3 separate regions of the Homo sapiens genome follow, and regions 2 and 3 are each linked to region 1. Evidence: promoter capture Hi-C in 16 types of primary human blood cells and fetal thymus (Javierre and others, 2016). All regions are on one chromosome and are shown on one strand. Each heading gives the region's core, a stretch centred on a gene start or on the middle of the fragment in contact. The rest is flanking DNA. Distances are from core to core; before and after follow the strand shown. Region 1 holds the start of PHF20 (PHD finger protein 20). Region 2 overlaps CEP250 (centrosomal protein 250). Region 3 overlaps CEP250 (centrosomal protein 250).

Evidence for each region. The method cuts DNA at HindIII sites, captures the fragments that hold promoters and counts their contacts. A CHiCAGO score of 5 or more calls a contact.
Region 2: a fragment that was not itself captured here is called in contact with the fragment with the promoter of PHF20 in region 1 in 3 of 17 cell types (naive B cells, naive CD4 T cells and naive CD8 T cells); the score reaches 7.2 in naive B cells.
Region 3: a fragment that was not itself captured here is called in contact with the fragment with the promoter of PHF20 in region 1 in 1 of 17 cell types (total B cells); the score reaches 5.7 in total B cells.

Annotation. Positions count from the first base shown.
Region 1 is chr20:35,770,699-35,773,398 of GRCh38, forward strand. It overlaps PHF20 (PHD finger protein 20), which reads left to right and starts at 1,317. Exons shown (of 18, transcript NM_016436.5): 1 at 1,317-1,381. RefSeq lists a silencer at 1,385-1,764. The HindIII fragment of the contact is 4,645 bases long and covers 1,022-2,700 here.
Region 2 is chr20:35,494,764-35,497,463 of GRCh38, forward strand. It overlaps CEP250 (centrosomal protein 250), which reads left to right. Exons shown (of 35, transcript NM_007186.6): 25 at 1,814-1,952. Among named protein-coding and RNA genes, the nearest start is that of CEP250-AS1, 5.1 kb to the left of the region's middle. The HindIII fragment of the contact is 2,436 bases long and covers 51-2,486 here.
Region 3 is chr20:35,468,659-35,471,358 of GRCh38, forward strand. It overlaps CEP250 (centrosomal protein 250), which reads left to right. Exons shown (of 35, transcript NM_007186.6): 10 at 1,232-1,328. Among named protein-coding and RNA genes, the nearest start is that of CEP250, 14 kb to the left of the region's middle. The HindIII fragment of the contact is 7,220 bases long and covers 1-2,700 here.

The DNA of each region.
Region 1 (2,700 bases), core at 67-2,566:
GCAGTGAGCCAAGATCGCACCACTGCACTCCCGTCTGGGCTACAGAGCGAGACTCTATCTCAAAAAAAAAAAAAAAAAGTGGCCAAGTACGGTGTTAATTCCAGCACTCTGGGAGGCTGAGGTGGGTGGACTGCTTGAGCCCAGGAATTCAAGACCAGCCTGGGCAACATCGTGAAACTGCGTCTCTACAAAAAAATGCAAAAATTAGCCAGGTGCACACCTGTGGTTCCAGCTATCTGGGAGACTGAGGTGGGAGAATTGCTTGGGCCTAGGAGGTGGAGGTTATGAGGAGCCGAGACTGCGCCACTGCACTCCAGCCTGGGTGACACAGTGAGACCGTGTCTCAAAAAAAAAAAAAAATTAGCTAGGCATGGTGGCATGGGCCTGCAGTCCCAGCTACTCAGAAGGTTGAGCTGGGACCACAGGTGCGCACGTTCACGCCTGGCTAATTGTTGTATTTCTTGGAGAGACGGGGGTCTAGCTATGTTGCCCAGGCTGGTCTCGAACTCCTGAGCTCAAGTGATCTACCCACCTCAGCCTCTCATAGTGTTGGGATTACAGGCGTGAGCCACTGCTCCTGGTCTCATATTCTTTTGGGGTGGCTTCAACTCCGACCTTCGTCCCCAGAGAAAATACAGCTCCTTATCCTTAGCAGCAATTGGAAACCTTTCTAGGAGTTAATGATAAAGTGGGGGAGAAATGAGTGCAAAGGCTCTGAGATGAGAAGAACCTGGATTGTTAGCGGAGTTGAAGGACACTGAGAATGTGGGGGAGCTGGATTCGTGAGGATAAGAAAGCAGCAGGTCAGGTCCAGACTTTGAAGAGCCTGGTAGATAGTCTAGGTGAAGAGTTAGATCTTAATCCGGAGTAGGGAGGGAAACGAGCTTTGAGCAGGGGATGGCGTTTTGAAAAGACCTCTCTGCCGGTGTACGAAGAATGGATTAGAACGGCGAAGAGTAATAGGGTGGAAACCATCTTCATCTTGGAGAGAGATGGTGGTCGCTTCGATGGAGAAATGGGAAGCTTTGAGACGCATTTAGGTGGCAAAATTAACGGGTGATGGATAGCGTCCATTCCCCGGCTTCGGTGATCTCAGTGATTACGAGTGAGTGGGGACTTCGTGTTCCTGCTAGGGCGCGGGCCTGTTTCCCGCGCGTCAGGGTAGTGGGCGTGGCCTGCGCAGGCCGTTGCCACAGTGATCGGGCAGACGGGGCAGGGGGCGGGGCAGCTGGGACCTTACGTCACTCGGTGGTGGCGATGATGCGTGTGTGTGGGGGGCGGGGCATACGCTGGGCGCGTCCCGGGGGTCACGTGGTGCAGAGCACGCAGAGTCCTTCTGTCGGTTGGTCCTGGAGCGGCGCAGCCGGAGTGGGGCCGTGAGGTGAGCTCGCGGCCAGGCGAAGCCGGCCGGCCGGGCCGGGTTGGGCCGGGCCCGCGCTGCGCGCGCGCCGTGCGGGCGGGGACGGCGACGGACGCCACCGCTGCTTCGGTCCCCTGCCCGGCCCCGCTCCCCGCCTGGCCCCGCTCGCCCAGCCTGGAGGGAGGCCCTGGGACTGCTGCTGAGAGCGTGGCGGGCGTGCGAGCGGTGCCCAATCCCCGGGGCTACCCGCAAGAGTGGCGGCGGCTGCCGCCAATCAGCGCCGCCCGAGGGGGCTGGGCCGTGGGGTGCGGGCCCGGGGCGCGGAGCGGGCCGTGTTGGGGGTGCGGGTAAGCCCTAGGGCCCGAGCCTGAGCTGTGTGGGCACCTAGAGCCTCATCAGCAGCCTCTGCTATTGCCTTGCGCTTTGGGAATATGTTTTTTAAAATTGGCTTTTTTTATCCTATTCTGGGGAGCACATTCCTTTCTCAAGACCCCAAATATGGGAGTGTCCCTTTTCTCTATAGTTTTGAAAACTGGGCGGCACACCCCCTTTCTTAAGCTCTAGCTCTGGAATTTTATCTAAATTTCTAAAAGCCCTCCCCCCCCCAAATTTAGGGCGTACCCTCTTCCGTCAGCCCCCAAAGTGGGAGCACATTCCTTTTTTCGGGCCTCCAATTTGATTCTGCATTTCCGTTCCAATTTAGAGGTTCACCCTGTTATCGGGTCCTCAGATCTGGGGTCCATTAGCTAAAGTTTTGGGATACTTTCTTGTATCCCCTCTACTCCAAGGAAGAATTCCCCTTTTCCAGGTCCCAAATCTGACAGCATGCCTTCTGGAATTTCTTACATTTAGGGGCCACTTCCTTTCCTCAGCCCTTCAAACCTGAGGTTGGGCCGAAAACAATGTCCAAATTTTGAAGTTTATGGGTACTTATTTCCAGTTTCACAAATAAGGGAATTCACTGCCTTCTCCCGAGACTGTATTATTGGGGTTACACACTTTTCACGTGTTCCCCAAATCAAACTACCTTATTTCCTGAAGGAGACTCATTTTCATATCTGGGAGTATATTTGTTTCTTGTGCCCCCCAAATGTACGAGGTGAACCCCTTTTAGTTATACAACTCTCAGAGTGCAGCCACTTTCCAGATGCTTCTTAAATTTGGGGGGCACACCTTTTTGTGAGTCCTCTCATTTCCAGGTGGCGAGTGGTCTGTGGTTTTGAGCATGCCTTCCTACCCTGTTTAGCTTTTCTGTCATCCAAGACATTTTCATTCCTCAGTTTCCTTCCCTTTTTGGAGCCACACTCCCCTTGAGGTGCTTTCCCCAGTCTGGTCAGTGC
Region 2 (2,700 bases), core at 19-2,518, 280 kb before region 1:
TCTGGGATGTACATGTAGCCATGTGGAGAGGACATGGTTCCTGTCTTCAAAGCTTGAACTTCATTTATTTAGTAAATATTTCGTGAACGCCTGTTATGCACCAGGCACCATGCTTGGGGATACAGTGATAAACAAGACTGTATGGTCCCTGCCCCAGTAGAATTTATAGTTTTGTGGGGAAGACATTAATCAAATAATAACTCAAATTATTACGTTATGACACATGGAGGAAACAGGGTGAGAGAGAGAAGAGACTTTAGAACCATTGTTAGGGAAGGCCTTTCTCAGGAAGTTGCATTTAAACTGAGCACTCAGCATGAAGTGGAGCTACCCATGTAAAAGGGTGAGGGGGAGTTCTATTCCGTAAGAGGAGAAATAATATGCAAAGGCCGTGAGGCAGATAAAAGTTTACAGTGTTAACTGAAAGAGTGGTTGGAGCCTGATTGGATTGTAATTGGAGCCTGGTGAATGAGGAGAGTGGCATGAGCTGGGCAGGTCCACAGCATTCAAGATTTGGTAGGCCACAGCAAGGAGTTCGTAGTTTGAGTTTCATAGGAAACCTCTGGAGAATTTTAAGCAGGGAAATTGATACAATCCAACTTATGATGTATTTGAAGGGATTGTAATGCCATGAGACATCAGGAGTGAAAGAAGACCATTCAGAGTGAAGAGCAGCTTGTATTCTTAGTGCTGTGGGAATTTGAGAAGGGGATGGGCTGGGTGCTGTGTCCCACGACTGTAATCCCAGCACTTTGGGAGGCTGAGGTGGGCAGATCACTTGAGGTCAGGAATTCAAGACCAGCCTGGCCAACATGTCTACTAAAAATACAAAAAAAAATTAGCTGGGCATGGTGGTGGGTGCCTGTAATGCCAGCTACTTGGAAGGCTGAGGCAGGAGAATTGCTTGAACCAGGAGGTGGAGGTTGCAGTGAGCTGAGATCACACCACTGCACTCCAGCCTCGGTGACAGAACGAGACTCCATCTCAAAAAAAGCAAAAAACAACAAAAAAAAGACACAGTTTGAGAAGGGACACATTATTTTGGTGGTGAATCTAGAGGCAGGAAGACAAGTTAGGCTGGTACAGTTGTCCTGATGAGAGATCCTAAAGCTAAACCAAGGTAGGGTAGTGGGGAAGAGGAGGAGAGAAGAGAAGAGGTTTAAAGGATGTTAAGGGAGTTAGAATCAATTGTATATAATTATAGATTGGATGTAGGTAGGTTGAAGGGAGAACTCTGGAGTAGTCAAGGTTCTACGTTAGGACACTGTGTGGATGGAAGTGCCATTCACTGAGCTAGGGAACATAGTAGGAGATGATTGGGTGGACAGGGGAGGAGAGGAAAGGGATGGGGAAGATTTGGACATGTTGAACGTGAGGTACTAATATAAGGTATGTGTGAAATTTGCCAGAGAAGAATAAGGTTGATAGCTAGGCATGGTGGCGCATGCCTGCAATCCCAGCTACTCTGGAGGCTGAGGCACGAGAATCATTTGAACCCGGGAGGCAGAGGCTGCAGTGAGCCGAGATCGTGCCACTGTACCCCAGCCTGGGTAACAGAGCAAGACTCTGTCTCAATAAAAAAAAAACACAAAAAAACCTGTGAGGTTGAAATGGGGCATCATCTGCAGGAAGTACCTAGGAGCACTTATTATAGTAAGTGCTCAATAAATGATAGCTTTTATTGTTACATCATAATCATTATCATTACTATTTCTATTTTGATTATTAATGCTATGTTTAGAATACTCAGATGAGAAGGTAATTTTTCATTCCCTAAGAGAATGGCCCAGCACTCTGACCCCTCTCTTTTTAGCCTGACTCTCTCACTGATGGAAAAGGAACAGAGACTCCTTGTTTTACAAGAAGCTGACTCTATTCGACAACAAGAGCTGAGTGCCCTGCGCCAGGACATGCAGGAGGCCCAGGGAGAACAGAAAGAGCTCAGTGCTCAGGTACTTCCCACTCTGGTTATGAGCTCTGCATCCCTGGCAGAAGCCTGATTCTGAAGCGGTGGATTGATTGCTCTGAGTCCTCTCATGGAGAGGACCCATCTATTTTTCCTGATTACAGGATAGGCTGGTGCCTCAACACCCCTACAGGAGGGGGAAGCCAGGACTAGACAAGGCGGGGGCTTGGGAATCTGACCCAGAGATGGACATGGCTCCTGTGGGAAACCTGACAGCCCACAGCAAAGTGCACACGGGTGTAGCCCATGCAGGCCTGGTTCCAGCACACCGGCTTCAAAGTATGCTGGGTCTGGTTGGCAAGATGTAGCAGGGAGAATGAGCAACCAGAAATACTCCAGATCAGGCAGGCAGCAGCAAGACTTCCAGGGACTCAGTCTGCCCCCATCAGAACCCCAGATATTGTATACAGAGAAAAGATGGAACTAGGAGGGAAGGAATGGGGTGTAAGAGCCAGATGGTGGCTTGCAGGGGTTAAGGGCACACAGGTTTGGCTGTTCAATGGTCTTGAGTTTGAATGTAAGCTTTCTAATTGTGTGAACGTCAGCTTCTTCATCCATAAAACAAGGGTGAACAATTCTTGTTCCTAATTCCTATAACCATTATAGGAATATATAAAGTGTCAGGAACACAATAAGCATTCAATACATGGTAGCTATGTTATTGTGACTGGTCTTACTAGGCGCAGCGTCGAGGTTTCAGGGCAGAGTTCTGGTCATAGCAAGGAGCCAGCATA
Region 3 (2,700 bases), core at 195-2,694, 300 kb before region 1:
CTAGACACTCAATACATTTTGTTTCTTTGTTTTTTGAGACAGAGTCTAGCTCTGTTGCCCAGGCTGGAGTGCAGTAGTGTAAACACAGCTCACCGCAGCCTTAACCTCCTGGGCTGAAGCAATTCTCTTGCCTCAGCCTCCAAAGTAGCTGGGATTACAGGCACGCACCACTATGCCTGGCTAACTTTTTAATTTTTTTGTAGAGACGGGGTCTCACTATGTTTCCCAGGCCGGTCTGGAACTCCTGAGCTCAAGCAGTCTTTCCACCTTGGCCTCCCAAAGTTCTAGGATTACCGGTTGAGCCACCGTGGCTGGCCAGTGAATGTTTGTTGAGTGATGCAATACTTAAACAAATGACCATACAGTGTGTTAAGGTTCTTAGAGATGGTATAGAATAAAATTATTAAGACTTTTGCTGAGTGAGGAGGATCACTTGAGCCCAGGAGTTTGAGACCAGCCTGGACAACATAGTGAGACCTTGTCTCTACTAAAAGTAAAAATAAAAAAAGAATAGCCATGTGGTGGCATGCACCTATAATTCTAGCTACTTGGGAAGCTGAGGCAGGAGGATTGCTTGAGAGTGAGCTATGATTGCACCACTGTATTCCAGCCTGGGCAACAGAGCAAGACCCTGTCTCAAAAAAAAAATTGGAAAAAAATTTAAACTTTTAGATAGCATTCATTCAAGAAATATTTATTTAGCCACTCACATAATAGCAAGCAGTAAGCTCTAAGATATAGTGTTAAGTGTTTGGTGATTTTGCTGGACTTTGAGATTAATATCAAGAAGGTTGAACATAATCTTCCCCAAATTGCCCTTCCTTTTTCCCTATCAGAGTCAGAACCTCGGGCTGGAGGGACCTTGGGACTATCCCAAGTGCAATTCTGATGTTCTTATTGGCTTCAGGGTGCTTGACTTCAAGATCAAGCGAGGCCTGGAAGGGCCTGGGCCAGGGCTTTCCTTCAGCTCTTGGGCCCCCAAACACGTGTTCCAGCCTTGAGATGTGGTAAATCCCTGCATGTGTCTGAGTGGTTTTTTGCTTCCCCACTTCAAGGCTATAGCATCATGTGGTATTCAGGGAGTGCAGACGGGCTGGGGGTGCCTAAGGGATTTGGGGGAGGCTGCAGTTGGGAGTGGTTGGGGTTGGGGCTGGGGCTGGGGTGTGCTGCATCGTAGCTCTGTCCACATCCATGGGCTGTTCTGGTGACAGTGCTATGCTCTTCTCTTTAGGGTGACCGAGCTCTCTGCTCTGTTGACCCAGTCTCAGAAGCAAAATGAAGATTATGAAAAGATGATAAAGGCTCTGAGAGAGACAGTGGAGATCCTGGTACATGATCCTTTGCTCTGGAAAGGAGTTGGGCGTGGGCTTGTAGGTTCCTTGTGCTTTATGGACAGATAGTGCAGGATACCAGTTACATATTCCATGATGAAATCCTCTAAAGCTAAAAAATAAATTTTGGCTGAATCTGAAAATTAATTAACTCATTCATTTATTCATTGAATAAATACTATTGACTGTCTACTATCCCTACTGTATTCCTGGGGAAATTGCAATGGCATATGTATGCAGTGTGTCCTTACCAGAGAATTGGCACATACATTCAGAGACACATTGGCAAATTAGTGAGTTACCAGGAAGCGGATATGTGGAGAGATTTAAAATCTAGTCACATGGGAAACAACTGAGGAGTATGGCAATGTTTAGCCGGGAGAAGAAAGAGCTTGAGGCCCTGTGAAGGCCCTTGAAGACATGATAGCTGCCTTCACATATCTGAAGGACTGACGCTGGGAAAAGAGAGTTTATGAAGGGCCGGGCGCGGTGGCTCACGCCTGTAATCCCAGCACTATGGGAAGCTGAGGCAGGCAGATCACCTGAGGTCGGGAGTTTGAGACCGGCCTGACCAACATGCAGAAACCCCGTCTCTACTAAAAAAATAAAAAAAATTAGCCGGTCGTGGTGGCACATGCCTATAAACCCAGCTGCTCGGGAGGCTGAGGCAGGAGAATCACTTGAACCTGGGAGGTGGAGGTTGTGGTGAGCCGAGGTTATGCCATTGCACTACAGCCTGGGCAACAAGAGTGAAACTCCGTCTCAAAAAAGAGAAAAGAGAGTTTACATATTTAATGTTTTCCAGGGCAAAACCAATGTCAATAGCTAGAAGTTAATAGGGGAATAGATTCTGGCTCACAGCTAGAGCTGTTAAGTAGTTGAACAGCCTGTCTTGTGAAGGAGTAAGGTTTTGGTCATTGGCTTAACATCTGCCAGGGATGTTATCAGAGGGCTTCTCTAAGGTTGGATGTTAGAACCCTCTGGCTTAATACCATGTTTCATCTCTATAAGTTTTCAGATCTCTGATTTTAGGTAGCTCCTGAACCCCTATTCATATGTACACCCCTAGTCTTCTCATCCAAGCTGAGATCAACAGGAATTGTAGCTTTCTGATTCCCTCTTTTTTTTTCAGGAACTTGCCAATTCAGAATATCCATGGGGCTCAGATAATGTAAATAAATGAAATGGGTTCAGTTGTAAGAATTCTGGTTTTCCAGTGCTGTTTGTTGTATTTAGTTTTCAGTACTGCAGGGGACACTTGAGCTCAGTATTAAGGAAGCCATGAGGAGCAATAGGGATTGTGGGACCCTCAATAATAAATGTCTCATCTAGATGAGGCATCTACCATTCAACTTCAGTAAATCGTTTC